Regions from separate parts of the Homo sapiens genome. Here regions 2 and 3 are each linked to region 1. Evidence: promoter capture Hi-C in 16 types of primary human blood cells and fetal thymus (Javierre and others, 2016). All regions are on one chromosome and are shown on one strand. The core of a region is centred on a gene start or on the middle of the fragment in contact, and the rest is flanking DNA. Distances in the headings are between cores, read along the strand shown. Region 1 holds the start of SCUBE1-AS1 (SCUBE1 antisense RNA 1). Region 2 overlaps EFCAB6 (EF-hand calcium binding domain 6). Region 3 has its middle 3.8 kb from the start of SULT4A1.

Region 1 (3,413 bases), core at 640-3,139:
TGTTTACGAGAATTAAAATGAGATCGTATATACAAGACATCGCCTCATGTAGAGCCCGGTCCAGATCACTAGAACTGTGCAAAGCTGTCATACGCATCATAGCTGAGCATAGTGCATAGACTCTGACACGAGTCATCAGATCCTGAGAACAGTCTGTGTCATGTAGCTACCCCATTTTGCAGGTGAGCAAATGGAGGCTGAAAAGCAAAGAGACTTGTCCGTAGTGAAGAAGTAGCAAAGCCAAGATTTGCACCCAGGCCCAACCGCCTCCTAAGATCAAAGACACTTGATGAACCAATGGATGGGGGGCCAGGGGCAGGGGTGCTGTGCAGCCCAGATGCCCTGTGACACAAGGAGCCCCTGTCTCGCCATGCTGCCCTCTGCCTAGGGCTGCGCTGCCGTCTTTTGCCTGAGTTAGTGCGGCAGCTGCCTCACAGGCCTCCCTGCCCCGCAAGCCTTCTGGTAGCAGCCAGAACCACTGCTCTGCCCAACCCTCTGGCTCTGTCATTCCCCACTCAAGACCTTCCCATGGCTCCTGAGAGGAATGTGGTTCTCTGCAGCCTGTCCTTGCTTGGCATGTCATGAACCAGCCATAGTGAACTTCTCATCCCGGCCTCTGCCCACACAGCTCCCTCTGTCTGGAACTCCCGCTCATCCTGACTGACCATCGCTCACTGAGAACCCTCTACACCTTTTCCCCGCACACCTCCTGATCCCCCAGGTGGAACCTACGCATCCCTGCCTCTGTCTCATTCGGCCTCCACCCTCAGCCTCCCTGCCCTGTCTCTCATGTCTCTGCTCCCGGGCCTTTCTCCCCCAAGTGAGGATATGCCCTTGGACACAAGGACCCGCTGGCCCCCCAGTGTCCAGCCTGGGGTCTGTAGGGAGCAGGCAGTCAGGAAAAGCTGAGGCGAGGTCATGGAGTTGACGTGCGTGAGAACCGAAAGCATGCTGCCCTGGAGGGAAGCTGGCCTGCACGCCTGTTCTAGAGTGAAGTAGCAGAGGCCCTGGAAACACCATGTGTCCTGTCAGAGGTCACTTAGCATGTTGGGGGCAGAGCTGGAACTTGTCCCAGGCCCCTAGGCTCCAGACCAGTGCCCACCCCCTACACCGTAGCCCACAGCCTGGCTTCCCACCTGGGGTTTGTGGGCACAGGCCCTACGCATGGAAAGTCATGCAGATCTGGAGTGTGGGTTCGGAAACCACCGGGCAGATGCCTGGTTGGCAGAGTGGGGAAGCAGCCGAGGTCATCCTGGGTCATTAGGGAGTGGTGTGAGCCCTCCCTAGCCTCATTAGGGAAATTGGGTTGTGACTGTGGCCACAAGGCCAATCTCCTGGTGGGACGTCTGCCTGGCCACCCCTGGCCGCAGCATTCCCCAGGTCCTCGTCACCCGCCTGAGGCCAGCCAGGTGGGTTTTTGTCTCCCGGCCTGGTGGCTGCTTGATTATGTCACCAGACTCTTTCAGCATGTACGTCCCATGGGACTTCTTCCCTTCCTCCTCAGCCCCCGATCCTGGCTCCTCCTCTGCCTCAGCCCTCTCCTAGCTCTCCCCTAAGCTTCTTGAGTCTCCTTGCTGACCAGCAGTGGCCACTTCTCCAGCTCTGACCCCAGTACCAACTGTCCCCTAGACGGGGACCCCAGCTACAGAATTCCCACCTGCCCAAAACCAAACGCAGCATCTTCCCATCCTCCCAGACCTGTGCTTCCTAGCGCGTCCCCCATCAGTGGGGCACCAGCGCTGGGGTGCTGCCTTCACCCTTCCCCTGTGTGGCTCCCACATCCTAGTGTGACCGGATCCCACGTCCGAGCTCTACTCACCTCCCAAACCCAGCCAGCTTCCTCACCCCTGTTGCCCTGCCTTCTTCAAAGGTTGTGGTTGCTAATTGGTGTCCCTACCTCCGCCTCATCCCCCTTCCCTCCTGCATCCTGCAGCCGGGGCGCTTTCTCCGCCCCCCTCCGAGTTCCTCCATTGTCAGGCACTGCTGCCTTCCTGCCTCCCAAGGCCTCCCACAGTCCAGTTCCTCTCTCCTGGTTCCTCCCCATCTGCCTGTTGTTCTCCCTGTTACGGCACACGTGCCCTTTACTGATTACAACCTCGGTATGTGTCATCCTCTGCCTTTACTGCCATTTCCCATTCCCCTCCCTTCCTGGAGAACTCTTAGTCATCCATCAAAACCCAGCGCACTTTCACCTCCTCTCTGAAGCTGTCTCTGACTCTTAGGCAGGCGTGCACGTCTTCCTCTTTACTTGCACTCATGTGTTTGAAATGGTTCAGCCCTCTACTGCAGGACCAGTCCATGAGCTCCCAAGAAGGGCAGGGATGTGTTTAAGTCATCCTTGTGTTTCTCACGTCTCACACAGGGCAGGGTGCAGAGGAAAACATGCCGCATGGGAGTGTAGAGGAGATGAGACCATCTCATGAGGGACTCATGCCCGAAGTGTGTGCATCATCCGTTCACAAAGTGCCTTCACACCCCTCGTGCAGAGCAGTGTGCCCAGCCCACCGCCAGGAGAGGGACGCCCAGCGCGTCGTGGTTTGCTGGGTCCTGCACTGCTGTCCCACCTTGCTCCCTTCCACAGCTGGTCAGCTTGCAGGTCTGCCGGCTTCTCTCCACGAGGCCTCTCCAGCCCCAGTTTGTCTGTCAGAAGCGCAGAGACCCCCAGCCTCACTCCCCAGGCCTCTGCATGGGCTTGTTCCTGCTCCAGAACACCTTTCCCTCCCGCTGCCCAGCCTCGCCTCCACATCACAGAGCGCCTGACTCCTGTGCCCCCAGGGCACATCACAGATCGCCCACACGTTTGTCTGTTGAGTGCAGCGACAAGTCACCAGACTAAGTTTGAGTCGGTGGCGGGAATTGGCTTATGTCCCCAAAGTGGCTGTACCTGCCGATGATCCAAACGTACCTACTGTGCCCCGAGCCCATGAGCCCCTTTTGTCCTCGAAGGGCCATGAGAAGTACCCGCTGCCGCCCCTCATGCACAGCTGAGGGAGAGGAAGTGAGCGCCACTGCTTGTGACGCAGCCGGGACTCCAGCCCCAGGCTGTGGCTCTGCAGCCCCTGCTCCTTTCTGCGGCATGTGGGTGGACAGTGGTGGAGAGTCACTGGCTGGGGCTCGGGGACGCTGCTCACAGCCTTACAGATCCTCCTGTTCGTGTGTCCACAGTGCTCTTACCACTGTCTCCTTCCGGGTTCCCAGGGCTGCTGTGGGAACACTTTTGGGATGCTACCACCTTGGCCCCCATGCCTGGGCGCCCTCCATCTCGTCACCTGCTGGAAAGGAAAAACAGACCTTTTCCCTGTTCGTGGCAGGCCATGGCCTGGGCACCTGCCTGAGCTCTCTGGCAGTAGGAGCTAAGGGTGGCACTAGACAGCCTGTCCGTCCGCCATGGCTTCCTTTAGGGTCCCTGTGGA
Region 2 (3,715 bases), core at 911-3,410, 520 kb before region 1:
TGTAGCTTGCATAGGCCGAATAAGAAAATCTGTCCGCCAATCTGTGCTAACCCCATTGCTCTCTTATTTTTCAGCATTCCCAAAGTCAGAAATATTTTATCTTGAAGGGCATGAAACGAAATAGCACCAAAACAAATGCTCCCAAAGGCAGCAGCACCCTCTCAGGCAGTACCAAAGCCAGGTGAGATGCTCCTCCTCCCTGAGCATCTGTGCTCACTGATACAGCTTTTGCACAGTAGGCGGCCAGGTCATTGTGTGGGGCTTCAGGTCTCAAGAGAAAGGTGCTTTAAAAGTTGATCATGTTACCATTGCCACTTCTATCTGGTTTGTGTCCGTCATCCAGGCAACAAGCATTTACTGAGTGCTGACTCCTGGGCCAAAATTTTTAGGCATTCTCATATATATCACATCAGCAAGCATTGGCTTATACATTTTAACAGTGGATGACCTTAATTTGGTGCTCAGCATGAATGGAAATACTAGACAACTGCAGTGAGTTCAGAGAATGATTCCATCCACGTCACTGCGAGACAGCAGGGCCCACTCGACAATCCAGCTTTTCTTGAACCTAGATTCACATTTCCTGCAATAGGTGGCAGCAGCAGCAAGACTTCTAGTTCCTGAACCCTGAAGCTGGGAAAACATGCAACTTTGCAGGAGCTGAGGACTTGCTTGGATTTGGCTTGACTATAAATAGGATGTGCTCAGCCCTCCTTGTCTGCTTATAGGAGCTGGGAGAGAGCGTAATTGTCTGCAGCTCTTACATTTTAAAAGGCTTCGAGTGCAACTGTTTTGAGATGTTTGACAGCACACTTGTGGTCAGTGTTTCTGACACGACTTGTTTTTTCTCGGTTGCCGTATCTGTGTCTGTCATCACATCAGGTGTGGTGGGTCTGATGATATTCATGAGGTAATAGTGAATTTCTGAGATAGCTCCTGAAATTAGACTTTTATATCCATGATAAAGGAGTATTACAAACAAAACAGTATAAGCTTTTTTCTTTAGGCTCTGTATTTGGGGCAGCAAGACATTCATGCTAGTGTAAACTAATACAAAACACAATTACTTAATTTAGTTCAACTTAACATTCATCATTTTTTGGAGGTTGACGTGCTGAGCACATGATCAAACCCGACCCTGGCTCCCACGGCATTAATAGTCTGACAGGGAAGACAGACATTGAACAGTCATGGGGTCGAGGGTGTTCATTAAGGAAACCTGGCTGACACTGGCCACCAGTTCTCAGTAGAGGGATGAGTGAGGAATTGTGGATGGCGTGGAAACTTCTACCCTGAATGGTGGGAAAAAGAGAGACTCATCAATAAAATACAGGAGTAGAAGGACATGTGGTGTGCATGTGTGCTACTCTGTGTGTGTGGTGTGTGTGTCTGTGGGGGGTAAGTGGTCTGTGGTGTGTGTGTTTCTGTGGGGGGTGAGTTGTGTGTGGTGTGTGTGTTTCTGTGGGGGGTGAGTTGTGTGTGGTACGTGTGTGATGAAGGGGTGTGTGTGTGTGTGGTGTATGTGTGGTGAGTGTGTATTGTGTGTGGTGACTGTGTATGGTGAGAGTATGTGGTGAGTGTGTAGTGTGTGTGTGTGTGTGTGTGTTGGGAGGCGAGTGCTGTCTGAATGGCAGGGCTGTGAAAACCATTTATTTGTCAGTAATTTGGAGCAGCAGTTACGTGCTGAGTACTTCGGGGCTGGGGGTAGAGTGGTGTAAACACACCCTTTTATTTCATGGAGCTTATAATGGAGTTCATAATTTCCCAACTAAAAGTGTAATGCGAAGTTGGGGTATGTACAGTGCCGGAGAAGTGCAGGCTGTGTGAGAGACTCTGCAAGGAAGATGCAGGGTGGTCAGAGAAGCCTCTCCAGAAAGTGATGTTCCAGGAGGTCTCAAGGCAGAGGAATCGGCTGGGGTGGAGCAGGGCCGAGGGACCCATGGGGCCGTGAGAGGGGAGATGTGGGCAGGAGGCAGCTCCTCTCCTGCCTAGTGGGCACTGGTAGGCATGATGTCTAGAACATGCCATGACACGGTTATTAAAGAACATTTAACATAAAAAGATCAATGTCTCCATCGTCCCCAGGTAGCAATTTTTGTCATATCTTCTAGTCCCTGTCTATTTGTGACAATATATTTTTATATCGTTGTATTCATAGTGTATGCCCCACTGTACTTGTTCTCTTGACATTGTCCTAAACGTGTTCTGATATTTCTACATATTTTCTAGTTACCAGTTATAGCAGTGATATCCTACTCCATTAAAATATATTCACTTTCCGCAGTTTGTTGTTTTTCATTTGATTTCTAGGTTTGTGGGGGTGGGTCTTACAGTGTGTGAGGGTAGACTGTCTGTGACGATGAGGTTCGGGCAGGGCAAGGGGCTGTACAGGGCCTGGGGAGCTCCTTGGTGGAGGGAGACTGTGTCCCAAATGCGTGGCCATAGTGTTGCCTAGCTGTGGAGGCAGGTCAGTTTATAAGCTCAGATTTTTCTGCTAAATTGAATTCAGATGACTGGCTAAATTGTTTTTTGTGATACCCTATCATTTGGAATATATTTGTAAATCAACTTGCATTCTTATAATTCCTATGTTTAGAACAATAGACTAGGGGTTGCCAGTAGAGTCTGTCTAAGATATTAAGGCAGTATGAGACTGGAATGGGGGAGGAGGGACTGGTCTTCAAATGTTGGTGGCACGAATGCTGGAATCCTCATATTTGATTAGAACTGTATGTAGATGGCTTGCTTTTAATTTTCTACATGTTCTCTTGAGTAGGTTGCAGAATTGTTAAACCGTTTTGCAAACTCAAGTTATCTATTCTTGTGGATTGATACACAGATTTTCTTACTGCCATATCAAATATATGAAAACTTCATTACTCTTATCTGTTTACATACGAATACACACAAATCACTCACATGCATGTAGGCAAATGCATACACACATACACATGCTGGCACAATTGGACAAAAAGCCAAGGATTAAATTCACCGGAGTTTGGGTCTTGGCTTCACTGTTACTGAGTAAATTTGACCTTTTCTCTCTGGCATTTAATTTTTCCACCTCTAAAAATATGGATAATAGTGTCTAACTCACAAGGTTGTCACATGGTTGATGATTAAATGAGATAACACCCAGTGCCCAGCAAAATAGATGCTCGGTTATTGCTAGTTGAAGGACCTAAACGTAATGTTTGCGGCTGGCTTTTAACTTCATTTTGATATAAAGTGGGAAACTTTACACATGAACCTCTTTAAAGGCAAAACCTATAAACTCATACTTATCAATCAACTTCAGGTTCTTCTAAAGCACTGGTCTCAAGCTTATTAAATACAGATGGCTGGGCCCCATCCCCCAGAGAGTCAGTTTGTCTGGGTGGAGCCTGGAAATGTACATTTCTGAAAAAAGGTCTCAAAGTGCTGGTTCAGGCACCACACTTTTGAGAACCACCGTTTTAAAGCTATATGCTTGCTTTCACGGCCCTTTGAAAATCCATTTTTAAAAATGGAAAATAAATGCATTTAAAAACAATGGTATTAATAACAATAACAAATCATGTTATTTCTGCTTGAGGAATCTACAAATGGAATAGCTCTTTCTCCCCTTCAGATGAACCGATGGATGGTGTCTGTTGGGAGAAGTCTTTAATCTGACCGTGGAGATAGAGTGATAGAGTTCACACTCTCACCCACTCTAGCCAGATGGGTACCCCAC
Region 3 (3,461 bases), core at 732-3,231, 590 kb before region 1:
CAGCAGCCTTGGGAATGGGTATCAGAGGGCTGAGATTTGGAGATCTGCTAGATTAAGCTTACTGAAGAAGAGCCTCTTCAGGACAAAGTGCTATCCAGCCCCTTCTTATGCCCCTTCTTATGCAGCGGTGAGGTTTTCTCTATTCAAAGGCTCAGGCCTTGATGGACATTTTCGGCTCATGAGAAGTTACTGCTTTCTGCTCTTTAAGGATATCTTGTCAAAAAACAATTGGTCATAGATGTTTGGGTATATTTTTGAGCTTTCTATTCTGTTCCATTTATTTACATGTTTATGCTTATGTCAGTTACATATTGTTTTGATTTACAGTGTTAAGGTAAGTAGCTTTATAATAAGTCTTTAAATCAGGTAGTGTGAGCCCTCAAACTTTGCTATTCTTTTTAAAAATTATTTTGCCCATTCTAGGTTCTTTTTCTTCTTATTTATTTATTTATTTATTTATTTATTTTGAGATGGAGTCTCGCTCTGTCGCCCAGGCTGGAGTGCAGTGGCACAATCTCGGCTCACTGCAATCTCCACCTCCCGGGTTCACGCCATTCTCTTGTCTCAGCCTCCCCAGTAGCTGGGACTACAGGCACCCGCCACCGTGCCCGGCTAATTTTTTGTATTTTTAGTAGAGACGGGGTTTCACCGTCTTAGCCAGGATGGTCTCGATCTCCTGATCTCATGATCCGCCCGCCTTGGCCTCCCAAAGTGCTGGGATTACAGGCGTGAGCCACCGCGCCTGGCCTATTTTTCTATATAAATTTTAGAGTCAGCTTGTCAATTTCAACAGCAGAGTCCAGTGGGATTTTACCTGGAATTGCACTGACTCTATAGATAAATGTGAGGAGGCCAGGCACGGTGGCTCACGCTTGTAATCCCAGCACTTTGGGAGGCTGAGGCAGGCAGATCACGAGGTCAGGAGTTTGAGACTAGCCTGGCCAGCATGGTGAAACCCTGTCTCTACTAAAAACAATACAAAAAAATGAGCCGGGCATGGTGATGCATGCCTGTAATCCCAGCTAGTCAGCAGGCTGAGGCAGGAGAATTGCTTGAACCCAGGAGGCAGAGGTTGCAGTGAGCCAAGATCGCGCCACTGCACTCCAGCCTGGGCGACAGAGTGAGACTCTGTCTCAAACAAACAAACAAAAAAAAGTGAGAATGGGCAGAATGGGCACCTTAACAATGCTGAATCCATTAACAGGGTATAATTCTCCATTTCTTTAAGTTTTAAAACATTTCTCTCACTCATGTTTTGTAGGTTTTGCTACACAAATCTTGTGCATATTTTCCTACATATATTATAAGTATTTAATAGTTTTCAATGCTATTAAAAATGGTATTTTTGAAACTGCAATTCCCAATTGTTGGTTGCTAGTATGTATAAATAGGATTGTTTTTATTTGTTGGCCTTGTATCCTATGACCTTGCTAAACTCACTTATTAGTTCTAGCAGCCTTTTTGCAAATTCCTAGGGATTTTCTGTTAATAAAGGTTTTTCTTTAGGTTTCTATTCTGAAAAAAAGTTAAATGTATAGAAAAGTTTACTGCAATTGCGGTAGGCAGAATAACAGTCCTCCAAAGATGTCCACATTCCAGTCCTGGGAGCCTGTGAATATGTTATATTATATGTCAAAGTCAAACTAAGGTTGTAGATGAAATTAAGGTTGCTGATCAGCTGATCTTAAAATAGGGAGATTATCTTGGATTATTGGGTGGGTACAATGTAATCACAAGGGTCCTTAAAAGTGGAGGACGGAGACAGAAGAAGAGTCAATGTAAGAGCGATATGGCCAAGCGCAGTGGGTCATGCCTGTAATCCCAGCACTTCGGGAGTTCGAGGCAGGTGGATCAACTGAGGTCGGGAGTTCAAGACCAGCTGCACCAACATGGAGAAACCCTGTCTCTAATAAAAATACAAAATTAGTCGGGCGTGGTAGTGCATGCCTATAATCCCAGCTACTCAGGAGGCTGAGGCAGGAGAATTGCTTGAACCTGGGAGGCGGAGGTTGCAGTGATCCGAGATCGTGCCACTGTACTCCAGCCTGGGCAACAAGAGTGAAACTTTGTCTCAAATAAACAAGTAAACAAAAAGAGTGATACGATGTGAGAAAGACTGTGTCTGCCATTTTGAAGATGGAAAGAGACCATGAGCTAGAGAATGTGGGTGGCTTCTAGAAGCTAAAGAAAGCAAGGAAATAGGTTCTCCCCTGGATCCTCCAGAAAGGAATGCTAGCCCTGCTGACACCTTCCTTTTGGTCTAGTGGTACCAGCATCAGACTTCTGACTTACAGAGCTGAGTTTGTGGTAATTCATTATAGCAAAATAGAAAATGACTACATAATGAACATATATCATCACCTACATTCACCAATTGTGGCTTTTCCCACATTTTCTTTCTCGCTCTCAATGTGTATACATACATGTGCTTGCATTAGGGTTATAATTGTGGTTTTATTTTTGTAAAACCATTTGAAAGTAAGTGGCAGACATCATGATTCTTCACCCCCAAATACTTCCACATGTACCTCTGAGGCAAATGGACATTTTTACATAACCACAGTGCAGTTTTCAAATTTAGGAAATTTAAAATAGAATATCATCTAATCTAGAGTCTATATTCAAATATTGCAAATTATCTCATTAATGTCCATTATGGCTTTTTTTTTTCAGACGGAGTCTTTTTCTGTCACCCAGGCTGGAGTGCAGTGGTGCAATCTCAGCCCACTGAAACTTCCATCTCCCAGGTTCAAGCAATCCTCCTGCCTCAGCCTCCTGAGTAGCTGGGATTATGGTGCGTGTCACCACTCCCAGCTAATTTTGACCAGACCTCACTTACAAAACAAACCCAAAGATAAATGCAACAATTTCAAGATAGTGACCACAGACCATTAAATTCCAAAGTGTGGGGCCCTTCTGAGCACAGAACCCTGTGTGACTCCCCTGGTTGCGTATCCGTGAAGCAAGGCCTGCATCTATGTCCATGTCTGTACTTTTATCTATGTCTATATCTTCATGTAACCGCCACTAAGAGCAAGCTATGATGTTTCCAACACTATGGAGGGTAGGTAACCTTGAGTCTGCTCCCAGTCAACCCTCTTTCCAATGCCCCAGGTTAAGACTATTCTCACCTCTATCACTATAGATCAGTTTTGCTTGGTTTTGACTGTATATAAATAGAATCATATGACATACCATTTTTTGTGCTTGACTTAGTTTGTTCATCATTTTGACTGTGACATTCTTCTCAGTTACATTCCTTTTTTAAAAAAATTACTGTATTCCATTGTATGAATATATCGCAATTTATCTATTCTACTGTTGGGTACGTGGGTTTTTTCCCATTTTTGTCTAACATGCTCAAATTGTTTCCGATTTGACCTATGATAATACTTTCATGTTATACCCTGTGTCCTTCTGACCTATTCCCAACATTTTTGAACTTGCAGGAGTTCAAGACT

The links. The method cuts DNA at HindIII sites, captures the fragments that hold promoters and counts their contacts. A CHiCAGO score of 5 or more calls a contact.
Region 2: a fragment that was not itself captured here is called in contact with the fragment with the promoter of SCUBE1-AS1 in region 1 in 1 of 17 cell types (megakaryocytes); the score reaches 5.1 in megakaryocytes.
Region 3: a contact is called between a fragment that was not itself captured here and the fragment with the promoter of SCUBE1-AS1 in region 1, in 1 of 17 cell types (endothelial precursors). The highest score is 5.8, in endothelial precursors.

Annotation. Positions count from the first base shown.
Region 1 is chr22:43,274,418-43,277,830 of GRCh38, reverse strand. It overlaps SCUBE1-AS1 (SCUBE1 antisense RNA 1), which reads right to left and starts at 1,889. Exons shown (of 2, transcript NR_134582.1): 1 at 1,820-1,889. All of the region lies in intron 4 of SCUBE1 (signal peptide, CUB domain and EGF like domain containing 1), which reads left to right. RefSeq lists an enhancer at 1-111. The HindIII fragment of the contact is 3,024 bases long and covers 1,560-3,413 here.
Region 2 is chr22:43,793,711-43,797,425 of GRCh38, reverse strand. All of the region lies in intron 2 of EFCAB6 (EF-hand calcium binding domain 6), which reads left to right. Among named protein-coding and RNA genes, the nearest start is that of EFCAB6, 17 kb to the left of the region's middle. The HindIII fragment of the contact is 2,330 bases long and covers 996-3,325 here.
Region 3 is chr22:43,864,536-43,867,996 of GRCh38, reverse strand. No RefSeq gene overlaps it. Among named protein-coding and RNA genes, the nearest start is that of SULT4A1, 3.8 kb to the right of the region's middle. RefSeq lists a silencer at 1-148. The HindIII fragment of the contact is 3,844 bases long and covers 60-3,461 here.